Regions from separate parts of the Homo sapiens genome. Here regions 2 and 3 are each linked to region 1. Evidence: promoter capture Hi-C in 16 types of primary human blood cells and fetal thymus (Javierre and others, 2016). All regions are on one chromosome and are shown on one strand. Each heading gives the region's core, a stretch centred on a gene start or on the middle of the fragment in contact. The rest is flanking DNA. Distances are from core to core; before and after follow the strand shown.

What was found. Contacts are between HindIII fragments. The CHiCAGO score rates a contact against its expected background, and 5 or more counts as called.
Region 2: a fragment that was not itself captured here is called in contact with the fragment with the promoter of TCP1 in region 1 in 1 of 17 cell types (neutrophils); the score reaches 6.8 in neutrophils.
Region 3: a fragment that was not itself captured here is called in contact with the fragment with the promoter of TCP1 in region 1 in 1 of 17 cell types (neutrophils); the score reaches 5.4 in neutrophils.

Annotation. Positions count from the first base shown.
Region 1 is chr6:159,788,278-159,791,008 of GRCh38, forward strand. It overlaps TCP1 (t-complex 1), which reads right to left and starts at 1,325. Exons shown (of 12, transcript NM_030752.3): 1 at 1,128-1,325. The coding sequence starts at 1,191. It overlaps MRPL18 (mitochondrial ribosomal protein L18), which reads left to right and starts at 2,190. Exons shown (of 4, transcript NM_014161.5): 1 at 2,190-2,362; 2 at 2,663-2,731. The coding sequence starts at 2,311. RefSeq lists enhancers at 523-1,187, 1,188-1,851, 2,108-2,287, 2,318-2,377. The HindIII fragment of the contact is 4,019 bases long and covers 1-2,731 here.
Region 2 is chr6:160,018,951-160,021,681 of GRCh38, forward strand. All of the region lies in intron 4 of IGF2R (insulin like growth factor 2 receptor), which reads left to right. Among named protein-coding and RNA genes, the nearest start is that of AIRN, 13 kb to the left of the region's middle. The HindIII fragment of the contact is 6,450 bases long and covers 1-2,731 here.
Region 3 is chr6:160,000,257-160,002,987 of GRCh38, forward strand. The region is part of intron 2 of IGF2R (insulin like growth factor 2 receptor); the gene reads left to right. Among named protein-coding and RNA genes, the nearest start is that of AIRN, 6.0 kb to the right of the region's middle. The HindIII fragment of the contact is 833 bases long and covers 906-1,738 here.

The DNA of each region.
Region 1 (2,731 bases), core at 75-2,574:
TTAAAAACCACCTACTAAGAGTGTAAATGGGGCCAGACACTGTGGCTCACAGGTGTAATCCCAACACTGCGAGGCCGAGGCAGGAGGATCGCTTGATGCCAGGAGTTTGAGACCCCTTTGGGCAACATAGCGAAACCCATTTCTACAAAAAATAAAAACAAAGCCGGATGCGGCGGCGCGGACCTGTGCTTGGAGAATGCAGTGAGCTATGATGGCACTCTCGTCTGGGCGACAGGTGGGACCCTGTCCCTAAACAAAGCGAGCCTATTTGGCACAGCTTTGATGCGGGGTGGAATCTGATGGCGGGGAAAAAAAAAAAAAGTAATAACCACCAATTTCATGCTCTGCCACTTCGTACAGCTATACCAGCCTTTTCCTTCAGATTCTGCAAGTTTTTTGCTCATTAAAACTCTCTTTATCTGTGAGGAGAGAAATCGGTAGTCAACGGGGAAGGTGGTGACTTTCAGATTTGTTTACGAAAAAAATTAGGAATCTATCAAGAAACAGTAAGCTCTGTAGGTATCCAAAGGCCTGACAGCAAACGCTCTGCTAAGTTAGCGCTGCCGTCTCCTGGGGTCAATGCACTCGAGTGGCGTTTCCTGGGCTAACTCTACTGTAAGAAGCTGTCAACCCGGATACGGCTGGACGCCGGACGCCCGACCTCGACTGCAGCTGCGGGCGGACAGGGCACCGGGCTCATCCGAGGGCGCGCGGATGGACCTACTCTTTTTCTGGTAAATGGTCCTAAAATAAAACCTGGCGTTTAACATGGACACTCAGGGGGTCGCCCTGAAACAAAAGGGGGTGCGAGGCGTGGCCCGCACGTGCGAGCCCGGGAGGCCCGCTTTCCCGCGGAGGGCGCGTTTCCAACGCCGCCCCGGACACCACATCCACGCGTTGCCGGTCTCAAAACCCTGCCGCGCGCGGCGGGGCTCCTCCTCGCTGTGGGAAAAGTGGGGCCACAGCGCCCTGCCCCAGAGAACGGCGGGTGGGCTGGGTCCGGCTGCGGGGCCCCGAGGCCCTTTCTGCGGAGGTAAAGGAGAGAAACGAGGGCAGCCGGGGTCCGGTCGCGGTGGGACTCGGCCCTCCCCGGCCGCAAACCCGACCCAGGCCCGGCCCGCCCTTACCGTTTTGGGAGCGGATCGTTTCCCCAGTGCTGCGGTCACCGAACACGGACAAAGGCCCCTCCATCTTGACGGCAGCGATACACGTCGAATTCTGCTTACACCGCGGGCAACCAGTATCGCGGCCCCTCGGCCGACCGGCGACCACAGCAGTGGCTGCGACGGCGTGGAGCGTACCCGAGCGATGTCCCAGGAGCTACTGGGTAACACACCACCCCACCCGCTTCCCGGCTGCCCCGGCCCGGCCGCGGGGCACGGCGGGAAGGAAAAAGAGGCAGGGACAACAGGGAGAGAAACAGGACTGTGACGGAAGTGAGGCTCCGGGGAAGGGGCGGGGTCGGCATTTTTGTCCAATTAGATAGCCGATGGGAAGGGCGCGAAAGCGGAGAACGGAAGTCGGATGTTGGACCGCTGGGAAGAGGTTGAACCTTCGCCTCAAACGATGTTGCGCAGACGCAGTGGGCCATTCTAGTGCCTTCTAGAAAAGGTTGTAAGAAGGGTGGAGCTTGGAGCTGGGGTGTAACTGGAGGGGCGGGCCCTTCTCCAAGTTAGAGTTGGGGTTCTGAGCGAGTCGTGCGTTTTAGGTTTAGTGTCTTTTCCTTGTCCCTGCTCGGGGAGCGTGAGGCAGATCGGCCGGCTTTGCTCCAGGCCTCAGGAGTGTAAGTTTAAGGGCGCGAACCTGGGTGGGACGGGGCAGTTTTTCCAGCGGGCCATACGGGAAAATTTTTGGTTCGAGGAAGACAACCACCCTTTTTAAGGAGAAAACTGCATCTTGCCCTGCCTTATTCCTACGCGGTGCCCAGGTGGGGTGTGTGTGGACCAGTCGATGACCGCCCAAGCTCTCCGAGTAGAAAACCCAAACATGGTTTTGTGGGGTGTGTGCCTTTGACCCCGGACTTAAGCAACAAGCGTGGTCTTGGGCGTAGCTACGAGGTGGTTGGTGGGCTCCAGGGCCTGCGTGCCCCTCGACGTGAGCGATGATTGGCGATGAAGGATAACAGATCGCCTTCTCGGCCACTCAGTGGCAGGGGACTTGCTACTTCCGGGTCGGTGGCGTCTGGCGTGGAGAGTTTGGGGATCTACAGCAGCCAAAGGCTTGTCCCTGACTTTATATGGCTGCTCCTGGCGAGCGACTGAGTCGTCCGTGAGGAAAAAGAGGCGAGGCTTTTCCGAGATCGTCTCAGCGATGGCGCTTCGGTCGCGGTTTTGGGGGTTGTTCTCGGTTTGCAGGAACCCTGGTAATTAGTCTTGCCCCCCTTCTCCCAGCTCACTCGCCTGGGCTTGCACAGTACATTGGAACGTGCGGGTTCTATTTTGTATTCGACGTGCCGGATCGAAATAGAGCTCGCGGCACTGCGAAGACCACAGTAGGAAGTTAAGGACGGGGTCAGTGCTGACTCCACCCTGTGGGCATACGTATTTTTCGTCCCCTCGGGCCTAAAGATTGGGGGTGTAAAAGCGGATAGACGTTAGAGCGGGTTCGTGCGCTGTCCATATCCGTCATTTTTAAGCCCTGTGCGGTTTTTCCCGTTGCCCAGGGTGCAGGTTCGCAGCCCTGTCAACCAGCTCCGAGCCGGCAGCGAAACCTGAAGTGGACCCTGTGGAAA
Region 2 (2,731 bases), core at 98-2,597, 230 kb after region 1:
TAACAAATACCAGAGCAGAACTAAATGAAATGGAGACCAAAAAATGCAGTACAAAGGATAAAAAAAATGAGAAGTTGGTTCTTTGGAAAGATAATATTCATAGACTGTTGGTCAGATTAACCAGAAGAGAGAGGATTCAATCAGAAATAAGAAAGTAGACATTACAGCTGATACCACAAAAAAGATCATAAGAGACTTCTGTGAACATCTGTGTACTCACAACTGAGAAAATTTAGAGGAAATGTGTACATTTCTGGAAACATTCAAGTTCCTGAGATTCAACCAGGAAGAAATAGAAATTCCAAAAAGACCAATAACAAGTATTGGGATTGAATCAGTAATTTAAGAAAAACAAAACAAACAAAACAAAACAAAACAAAAACCTCCCAACAAAAAAAGCTCAGGACCAGACAGATTGACAGCTGAATTCTCCCAGAGGCACAGGGAAGAACTAGCACAAATCCTACTGAAACTGTTACCAAAAATCAGAGGAGGGAATCCTCCCTAACTCATTATTTGAAGCCAATATTATCCTGATAACCAAAGCCAAACAAGCACACAACAAAGAAAGAAAACTAGAGGCCAATATCTATGATAAACAGATTCAAAAATCTCAACAAAATACTAGCAAACTGAATGTAACAGCACTTCAGAAAAATAATACATCACGATCAAGTGGGTTTTATTCCAGGGTTGCAAGGATGGTTCAGTGTATGCAAATCAATAAATGTGATTCACCATTTAAACAATTTAAAAAAAAGTCTGACCATCTCAGGAGATACAGAAAAAGCATTTGATGAAATTCAACATCCCTTAATGAAAAGACAACACTCAAAAAATATTAGAAGGGACATACCTCAGAATAATAAAAGGCATATACGACAGAACCACAGCCAGCATCGTACTGAACAGGGAAAAGTTGAAAGCATTTCCCCTAAGAAGTGGAACAAGACAATGATGCCCACTTTTTCATCTCTCCTATTCAACATAGTACTGGAAGTCCTACCTGGGGCAGTCAGGCAAGAGAAAGAAAACGCATCCAGATCAGAAAAGAGACAGTCAACGTGTCTCTGTGTGCTGATGATATGATCTTATACCTAGAAAACTCTAAAGTTTCCTCCAAAAGTCTCTTAGATTTGATACGTGAATTCAGTAGTTTCAGGATACAGAGTCATTGTACAAGAATCAATAACATTTCTACACACCAGTAATGATCAAGCTGAGAATCAAATCAAGAAGTCAATCCCATTTATAATCACTAAAAAAAAAAAACCCACTAGAAATACATTTAGCCAAGGAGGTGAAAAATCTCTACAAGGAAAACTGTAAAACACTGATGAAAGAAATTGTAGATAGCAGAAGTGGGAAAACATCCCATGTTCATGAATTGGAAGAATCAATATCATTAAAATGATTATATTGCCCGAAACAATCCACAGATTCAATGCAATTCCTATCAAAATGCCAACGTCATTTTTTATGGAATTAGAAAAAGTCCTAAAATTCATGTGGTCCCCCAAAAAATCTTAATAGCCAAACCAATCTTAAGGAAAATGAACAAAGCTAGAGGCATCACAATACCCACCTACAGATTTTACTGGAGGGCTATAGTAATCAAAACAGCTAGTACTGATAGAAAAATAGACACACAGATTAATGGAACAGAATAGAAAACCCAGAGTCAAAGCTGCATACTTACAACCAACTGATCTTTGACACAGTTGACAAAAACATACACTGGGGAAAGGACACCCTATTTAGTAAATGGTTCTGGGAAAACTGGACAGCCATATGCGGAAGAATGAAACTGGACCCCTATCTCTTACCACATATAAAAATTAACTCAGGTCGGATTAGCGACTTGAATGTAAGGCCTGCCTGAAACTATAAAATTCCCAGAAGAAAACCCAGGAAAAGCTCTCTCGGATCTTCGCCTAGGCAAAGAATTCATGACTAAGACTTCAAAAGCAAATGCAACAAAAATAAAAATAGAGAAATGGGACTTTATTAAACTTAAAAACTTCTGCACAGCAAAATACATAGTCAGCAGAGTGAACAGACAACATACAAAATGGCCAAAAGTGTTTTTAAACTCTACATTCAACAAAGGATTGATATTCAGAATCTACAAAGAATGCAGACAACTCAACAAGAAAAACCACAATCCCTTTAAGAAGTGAGCAAAGGACGTGAACAAACATTTCTCTAAAGAAGACATACAAATGGCCAAGAATCTCCTAAACATACTCCACATCACTAATCATCAGAGAAATATACAAATTATTATAAAACCACATGGAATACTATGCAGCCATAAAAATGATGAGTTCATGTCCTTTGTAGGGACATGAATGAAACTGGAAACCATCATTCTCAGCAAACTGTCGCAAGGATAAAAAACCAAACATCGTATGTTCTCACTCATAGGTGGGAATTGAACAATGAGAACACATGGACACAGGAAGGGGAACATCACACACCTGGGACTGTTGTGGGGTGGGGGGCGGGGGGAGGGATAGCATTAGGAGATATACCTAATGCTAAATGACGAGTTAATGGGTTCAGCACACCAACATGGCACATGTATACATATGTAACAAACCTGCACGTTGTGCACATGTACCCTAAAACTTAAAGTGTAATAATAATAAAATTAAAAAAAAAAGTTTAGGAAAAAAAAAATAAACTGCATATATGGAACGTAATAAAAAAAAACCCCACAATGAGATAC
Region 3 (2,731 bases), core at 72-2,571, 210 kb after region 1:
CATGGCTGGGGAGGCCTCAGGAAACTTAAAATCATGGCAGCAGGTGAAGGGGAAGCAGGCAGCTTCTTCACATGGTGACAGGAGAGGAGTGGGGCGGTGCTACACACTTTCAAACAAGCACATCTAGTGAGAACTCTTATCACGAGACAGCACTTGGGGATGGTGCTACACCATTGGAAACCAGCCCCGTGATCCAGTTACCTCCCACCAGGCCCCACCTCCAACACTCGGGATCACAATTCATCATGAGATTTGGGTGGCGAGACAGAGCTAAGCCGCATCACCAGGTATAAATGCAAATCAGAGCAATTATGAGATCTCATTTTTCTTTGAGAAGTTGGCAGAAATTTAAATGGTTGAATCATAGAGTGCTGGCAAGGAGCCTGGAAATGGGCACATTTATTTATACGTTGCTGTAGGAAGACGGTTGTCTCTAAATCCTTTTGGGAAGATAATAGTTGGTGTGAGGTTGTTTTTTTTTTTTTTTTTTTTTTTTTGAGACAGAATCTTGCTCTGTTGCCCAGGCCGGAGTGCAGTGGCGCCATCTTGGCTCACTGCATCCTCCGCCCCCTGGGTTTAAGCGATTCTCCTGCTTCAGCCTCCTGAGTAGCTTGGATTACGGGCACCACCATGTCCGGCTAATTTTTTTTTTGTATTTTTAGTAGAGATGGGGTTTCACCATGTTGGCCAGGCTGGTCTTGAACTCCTGACCTCAAGTGATCCACCCGCCTTGGCCCCCCAAAGTGCTGGGATTACAGGTGTGAGCCACCACGCCTGGCCTGGTATGAGTTTTAAAGTGCCCTGAAGCAGGGGTCCTCAACCCCCGGGCCACAGACTGGTAGCGGTTTGTAGCCTGTTAGGAGCTGGGCTGCACAGCAGGAGGTGAGTGGTGGGTGACAGAGTGAAGCTTCGTCTGTATTTACAGCCGCTCCCCATTGCTTGCACTACTGCCTGAGCTCTGCATCCTGTTAGATAAGTGGCAGCAGTAGATGCTTATAGGAGCGCGAACCCTATTGTGAACTGCACATGCAAGGGATCTAGGTTGTGACCCCTTATGAGAATCTAGTGCCTGATGATTTGTCAGTGTCTCCCATCACCCCCAGATGGGACCATCTAGTTGCATGAAAACAAGCTCGGGGCTTCCACTGATTCTGCACTGTGGTGTGTTGTATAATTATTTCAATTACATATTACAATGTAATAATAATAGAAATAAAGGGTACAATAAATGTAATATGCTTGAATCATCCCGAAACCATCCCACCCCCAGTCCAAGTCCATGGAAAAACTGTCTTTCATGAAACCAGTCTCTGGTGCCAACAAGGTTGGGGGCTGCTGCCCTAAAATTTTTTATAGTGAGAAACAAATATTAAGACCTCAATGCTGGTTTAAACAATATTACATTATTTTAAATTGAGGAATCATACATTATCCACACATCCAAGGAGCTCAGAAGAAATTAAAAAAATCATACATTAGTTTTTCCTTAGGCAAACAATATTACATATGTGAATCTTAGCAAATGTTAGCCATCATTTTCATAGGGCCTGTGAACAATATTTGGTCCCATTTGCAACCTAATTATTTTCACATTTTAAAGTGGTTTATACATTTTATATGCATTTGACCCTTGAACAACGCTAGAGTTAGGGGCACCAACCCCCTGCACAGTTGAAAATCCACATTTAACATTTCACTCCCTCTAACCTTAGCTGCTAATAGCCTGCTGTTGATGGGAAGCTTTACCAGAAACATAAATAGTCGATCAACACATATTTTGCATGTTATATGTATTAAGTACTATATTCTTACAATAAAGTAAGCTAAAGGAAAGAAAATATTAAGAAAATCAGGCCGGGTGTGGTGGCTCACACCTGTAATCACAGCACTTTGGGAGGCTGAGGTGGGAGGATCACTTGAGCCCAGAAGTTTGAGACCAGCTTGGACAACATAGTGGAACCCCATCTCTGCAAAAAATAAAAAAATTAGCCAGGCATGGTGGTGCATGCCTGTAGTCCCAACTACTTGGGAGGCTGAGGCAGGAGGATTGCTTGAGCCCAGGAGGTGGAGGCCTCAATGAGCTGTAATCAGGCCACTGTACTCCTGCCTAGGTAAGAGAGTAGTGAGAGCTTGTCTCAGGAAAAAACAAATGATAAGGAAGAGAAAATTATGTTTATTATTCATTGAGCGGCAGTGGATCATCATATAAAGATCTTCGTCCTTATTGTCTTCATGTTGCGTAGGCTGAGTAGGAGGAGGAAGAGGAGGGACTGGTCTTGTTGTTCTGGGGTTACCGAGGTGAAAGAAAATCTGTGTATAAGTGGACCTGGGAAGTTCAGACCTTTGCAGTTCAACTGCATTTGATTTCCTTTTCAAGTACCTCAGATGTCTGGCTTAACAGTTAAAATTTCAGTGTAACAATAATTATAAATTTATGAGTATTATTATTTAATAATTCTTATATATTTACTAGTTATGCTAAAATTCTAAAATTTCTAATTCTAAAATTCTCTTAAATGTTCTAATACTGTGTCGTAAGTCTGAATTAATTGCTGAGTTATAAACTTTGGATTGGAGTTATATTAAACATTGCAGTAAAAATACCAAATACATTCACATTTTTTTCTAACACATCAAATATTAATATTATGATTTTAATTAATCTTCTGAGGATTACAGCTCTATATCCATTTCAGGAAGCCTGTTACCAGCCCATTTAACTTGAGGTAAT